Regions from separate parts of the Homo sapiens genome. Here region 2 is linked to region 1. Evidence: promoter capture Hi-C in 16 types of primary human blood cells and fetal thymus (Javierre and others, 2016). All regions are on one chromosome and are shown on one strand. Each heading gives the region's core, a stretch centred on a gene start or on the middle of the fragment in contact. The rest is flanking DNA. Distances are from core to core; before and after follow the strand shown. Region 1 holds the start of DAPK1 (death associated protein kinase 1). Region 2 has its middle 170 kb from the start of DAPK1.

Region 1 (2,700 bases), core at 108-2,607:
AAACTGCATTTGTTTACCACCCAATGGCCCCATCGTTATGCATTTCCACAATCCAGGAGGGTACGCTTCTGGTACCCCCTTTACCTGCCAAGTTCCTCGCCGGTGTCGTAGTAATCATCCACGTTTTCCTGCCTGAACACGGTCATGATAAACTGTCACGCCTCACCAAAGCCCAGGGCACTTCAGCTCCGCTTCCCAGACCATCACCACCGCTCCTGCGCCTCCGTAGCCCCCTCATGCATCAGTCTCCAGTCCTTTTGAAGAAAAAAAAAAGGCAATAATAATAGTAAAATGGCAACCCCAAAAGGAAGTAGACCTCCCCGGCGCTAAGACCCCGCTCGCTGAAGACCGGGTCTCCGGAGCTGCCCCTCCTCGCGGGGTGGAGAGGAGCACCCTTTGTTAAAGCTGGGCGGCCAGGGACGCCCCCGACCCCTCAGCCCCGCGCGCGCGTGGGGCCGGGCACCACGGCACCCCGAGGTCGGCGTCCCCAAACGCTGGGCGGTCTGTTGGGATCAGAACCGGCTCCGGAAGTGACTGGCCTCCCCGCCTCCCCTTTCTCTGCACACATGCCCACCCAGCTTTCCCACCTCCAGGGACGCCGCGGAAGAATGAAGCCCTCGCCCAGACGGTACGCGCCTCACTGGGAGCAATCTCTCTCCAGCCTGCGGCAACGGTGGCACCCCCGCGCCACCTCTCGGCTCCCGCGCCTCTCCTAACACCGTGGCCACCCTCTCCCCTTCCCCGAGCGAGGCAGTCCCCAGAGCCACATTCCTGGCGACTCCCTCTCCGTTACCCGGCCGACCCGGCGTGCGGCCGCCCGGGGGAGCAAGGGAGGGAAGGGAGCGGCCCACCGAGGCGCAGCAGTTCGCTCCAGATCCTCGCGCCCCGACACAAAGCGCCTGGTCGGGCCGGCGCCACCTGTTCTCACCCGGCCCGCGGGGCTGGGGAAGCCTCCCGGCTGCGATCGCACTTCTCCCCGAAGCCAAGTTTCCCTCCGCCTTGGCCTTCCCAGTTGCTCGAGGCACTGCCCGGACAAACCCCACCGCGCCCTGGCTGGGAAAGCAAAAGCTGGCGCCGGGGGTCGGGGGGACCGGGGAGCCGCGCCTGGCTACTCACCCGGGCGCCTGGGAGCTCCCCCGGTCCCTCCGGAGCGCTGTCGGAGGCCGACCATAGGCGCCAGCGCCGGAGACTAGCCGGGGCGGCGGCGGGAACACAGCTAGGGAGTGAGTGGGGGGCGCAGATCCCTCCCAGGCGCCGGCCCCAGACCCTGCCGCTGCGAGTTGCCGAGTCCCCTCCGCGGAGGGAACAAAGTCCCCGGCGTTGGCTCGGTCCGGCTGTCCTCCTCACACTCCGAAGCAGCCTCTCGGCTCCTTGCCGCCTTTTGGGCGGAGGGCGGCCGGCAGGCGGCCAATGGGGACCCTGCAAGCGGGCTGGCGGCGCGGCCCACCCACCTCCGAGCTGCCCTGCCAGGCCGGCGCTGCGGGTTCTGCGCGGCGCTCGCTGCTCCTCCCAGCTCCGCGCTCCGGGCTCGCTGGCGCGCTCTACCGCGCACACCCCGCACACACCCACTCGCCCCACACCCACGCCGGCCGGGGAGCCAGTGCGTCCGCCCGGAACGCGGGCGCCCCACCTGTGACACATTGCTAAGCTGCCCTCTGACTGGGTTCTAGGGAAACACGGTTCTTCCGTCCCGAGATGTGTACTGGGATCCCAGCTTGTGCCGGGCACGGTGCTTGGTATGGGAAAATCACATAGAACAAAACAGATTTTTTTAAATCCCTGCCTTCCGGAAACCTGCATTCTGGTGGGACAGATAGATAATAAATATGTAAGCTAATTAATAAGGTAATTTTGGAGGATCAGTCCTACGTTTACCACGAAACAGGTTAATGGAATAGAGAATGGCAGGAAGGGAGCGTACCTCATTAGACTGGGTTCCTCTGCCGGACTGGTGTTGGAGCCGAGGCTTGAAGGCAAGAAGGTTTGCAATCTGAAGAAAGGGTTGAGGTCTCCGAGACCCAAAGAAGCAACAGAGACGCAGAGTTTATTTGCGCTATCCCATATGCTATTGGCTATTGTTGAGCTGAAATGTAGCTAGTCCCAAATTAATTGTGCTGTAAGTGTAAAATACACATTAGAGTCCAAGACAGTATGGATATGAGAATGAAAAATATCTCATGAATATTTTTATATTCATTACACTTTCAAATGATAGTATTTTGGATACGTTGGGTTAAACAAAATATATTATTAAAATTAATTTCACCTGTTTACTTTCTTTTTTTTGAGACGGAGTCTCACTCTGTCGCCAGGCTGGAGTGTAGTGGAGCGTGGCAACCTCCACCTCCAGGGTTCAAGTGATTCTCCTGCCTCGGCCTCCCCAGTAGCTAGGACTACAGTCGCGCGTCACCATGCCCAGCTAATTTTTGTATTTTTAGTAGAGACGGGGTTTCACCGTGTCGACCAGGATGGTCTCCATCTCTTGACCTCGTGATCCGCCCGCCTGGGCCTCCCAAAGTGCTGGGATTACAGGCGTGAGCCACCGCGCCCGGCCTCACCTGTTTACTTTTTAAAAGGTGGCCACTAGAAAATATAACAGTACCTATGTTGCTTGCATGAGATTTCTGAGGACTGTGCTGGTCTACACAAAGATCCCATATCCACTGGAGACCTCTATCCACTTTCTCTACTTCCCACCCC
Region 2 (2,700 bases), core at 113-2,612, 170 kb after region 1:
CTAATTCTATGGGTGAAATGGACTTGGGGTCAGTTTTTCTGCTCCATGCGATGTCAGCTGACTCTGCAGTCTTCTGAGGGCTCGACTGGGAAGAAAGACCCAGGAGAGCTCACTCACATGTCTGGCAGTTGGTACTGCATGTTGGCTGGGAGCTGAGCTAGGGCTGTTTACCAAAGACCTTTGTTTTCCCCCATATGGGCCTTGCAATGTAGTTATTTAGGCTTCCTCAAAATTTGATGCCTCAGTTCCAAGAATGAATGTTCCAAGAAGGAGGTAGAAAGGGTCAGCTTAACTCCTGAGTTCAAAATTCACTTCTGACATATTTTATCCATCAGAGCAAGGGGCTAGCCCAGATTCAAAGGAAAAGAAGTACACTCCACCTCTCATTAGAGGAATGGATGTACATACAGGCAGGGAGAGTTGATAGCATGGTGGTCATCTTTGGAGACGACCACAGCTGGAGGATGGTGACTGCCTCTGTTAACAAGGAGTCACATGGAACTGGGTGCTACTTTTTCTTGTGTAGAGAAGACAAATAGCTCATTTCTAGAACTTTTCAATTATTTTCATATTTTCCCTTTGATTCATCCTACTCACTGAAGGCATGTTAATATCTACCATTTGCACAATTGAAATTTACTCTGTATATACTGAGAATTCACTATAAAAATGCATTTGATATTTCCTTCAGTTGGGCAAGATTCTTGGTAAAAAGTTAAAAAAATAAGAATTGAGGCCCGAAACAAAGTCTGAATTTAGTATTGATGTGCAGTATAAACTGTTGCCAAAGCATTTTTCTTTTTTTTTTGAGATGGAGTCTCACTCTGTCACCCAGGATGGAGTGTAGTGGCACGATCTCAGCTGGCTCACTGCAAGCTCTTCCTCCCGGATTCAAGCAATTCTCCTGTCTCAGCCTCCCCAGTTGCTAGGACTAAAGGCGCACACCACCATGCCTGGCCAATTTTTGTATTTTTAGTAGAGATGGGGTTTCACCATGTTGGTCAGTCTGGTCTCGAACTCCTAACCTCAGGTGATCCACCTGCCTCAGCCTCCCAAGGTGCTGGGATTACAGGCATGAGCCACCGCGCTCGGCAGGTACTAGAATTTTATTGTTGCATTGTTATGTAATAGGAAAGGAGGAGAAGGAAGGGGAGGAGAAGCGGACTACTTAAACGATCTAAAAGTCCACCCATGAGAGAATGGATGACTACTCTGTAGTAAAACAAGCAAATAAATCATTATATAACAATAAAAATGAATTAGAGCTGCAGGTATCAACATACAAAATCTTACCAACAATGTAAGAATCTTACCAACACGTAAAGAATTAGAATTGCTAATTCTAATACTGTAGGATTAACCCTGGACATAAGATCAAAATATAAAAACATACATACATAACAATGCGACAATAAAATTCTAGTACCTGCCGGGCGCGGTGGCTCATGCCTGTAATCCCAGCACTTTGGAAGGCCGAGGTGGGCAGATCACCTGAAGTCGGGAGTTCGAGACCAGTCTGACCAACATGGAGAAACCCCGTCTCTACTAAAAATACAAAATTAGCCGGGCGTGGTGGCGCATGCCTGTAATCCCAGCTACTAGGTAGGCTGAGGCAGGAGAATCGCTTGAACCTGGGAGGCGGAGGTTGCAGTGAGCTGAGATCGCACCATTGCACTCCAGCCTGGGCAACAAGAACAAAACTCTATCTCAAAAAAGAAAAAAAAAAAACAAAAATGAACTGGGTGTGGTGGCAGGCACCTGTAATCCCAGCTCCTCGGGAGGCTGAGGCAAGGGAATCGCTTGAACCTGGCAGGCGGAGGTTGTAGTGAGCCGAGATCGCACCACTGCACTCCAGCCTGGGTGACAGAGTGAGATTCCATCTCAAAATAAATAAATAAATAAATAAAATAAAATACATTAAAATTCTAGTACCTGTCTCCTTGTGAAAATGTGTGAGATTTTTCTTTTCCAGGATCTAGCAGGAGTGGAACTACTGTGTTGTGGAGACTCAGATATCTCTTATGCACAATTCATAGCCTCTTGGCCTGACCTACTTTTCCAGTTATTATAGTGGCAACCGGCTCTGTGAGAGCTCCAAGTGACTTTCCCTTGGTGTTCCCTGATCTGCCCCACCCCCTTCTGTGATGCCTGTCTCTTGCTTTGGCCTGGGATGAGGCATGAAACACTACAGACCATGCTCAGTGTTCATGCATGCACAGCCATGAAGCATGGCGGAGGCAACGCCACACGGGGCAAACATTTGACCCTGGGACATAGGAGCCAGTGGATAAATTCTTCCGCTTTGCACCCCTGGACTAACTGTCCTGTAGTGCCATTTGCATGGCTTCTTGAAGGGTGATCTCACTAGATCCAGCCACGGGAGCACTCTCTGCAGGTGGCCCCTGCCTCATTTCCCTTCCCTCTGTATTCCTGAGTCTCACTCTCATCACTACTGAGAGACCACCTATCTCTGGGGTGAGTCCAGCAGAGTCTGCCAGGGTTCTCTTCCTGCCATTGTGAATGTCCCCACATCCAAGTGGAGTAGAAGGAATGTGGTGGACTTGTGGGGAAACTGCTTATGATCAGTTGAGCTTTTGTGGCGGAAGTTACTCACACTGTAAATTCTACACCCAGGAATTTATGGAAATCTGGTCTTTAACTTTGAGTTTGGACAGACAAGTTTGGTGCTAGTGGAGATCC

What was found. Contacts are between HindIII fragments. The CHiCAGO score rates a contact against its expected background, and 5 or more counts as called.
Region 2: a contact is called between a fragment that was not itself captured here and the fragment with the promoter of DAPK1 in region 1, in 1 of 17 cell types (erythroblasts). The highest score is 6.3, in erythroblasts.

The regions. Positions count from the first base shown.
Region 1 is chr9:87,496,524-87,499,223 of GRCh38, reverse strand. DAPK1 (death associated protein kinase 1) reads right to left here and starts at 1,357. Exons shown (of 26, transcript NM_004938.4): 1 at 1,117-1,357; 2 at 85-254. The coding sequence starts at 146. RefSeq lists silencers at 399-508, 719-908, 1,279-1,628, 1,649-1,708 and an enhancer at 251-1,008. The HindIII fragment of the contact is 10,886 bases long and covers 1-2,700 here.
Region 2 is chr9:87,327,904-87,330,603 of GRCh38, reverse strand. No RefSeq gene overlaps it. Among named protein-coding and RNA genes, the nearest start is that of DAPK1, 170 kb to the left of the region's middle. The HindIII fragment of the contact is 6,039 bases long and covers 1-2,700 here.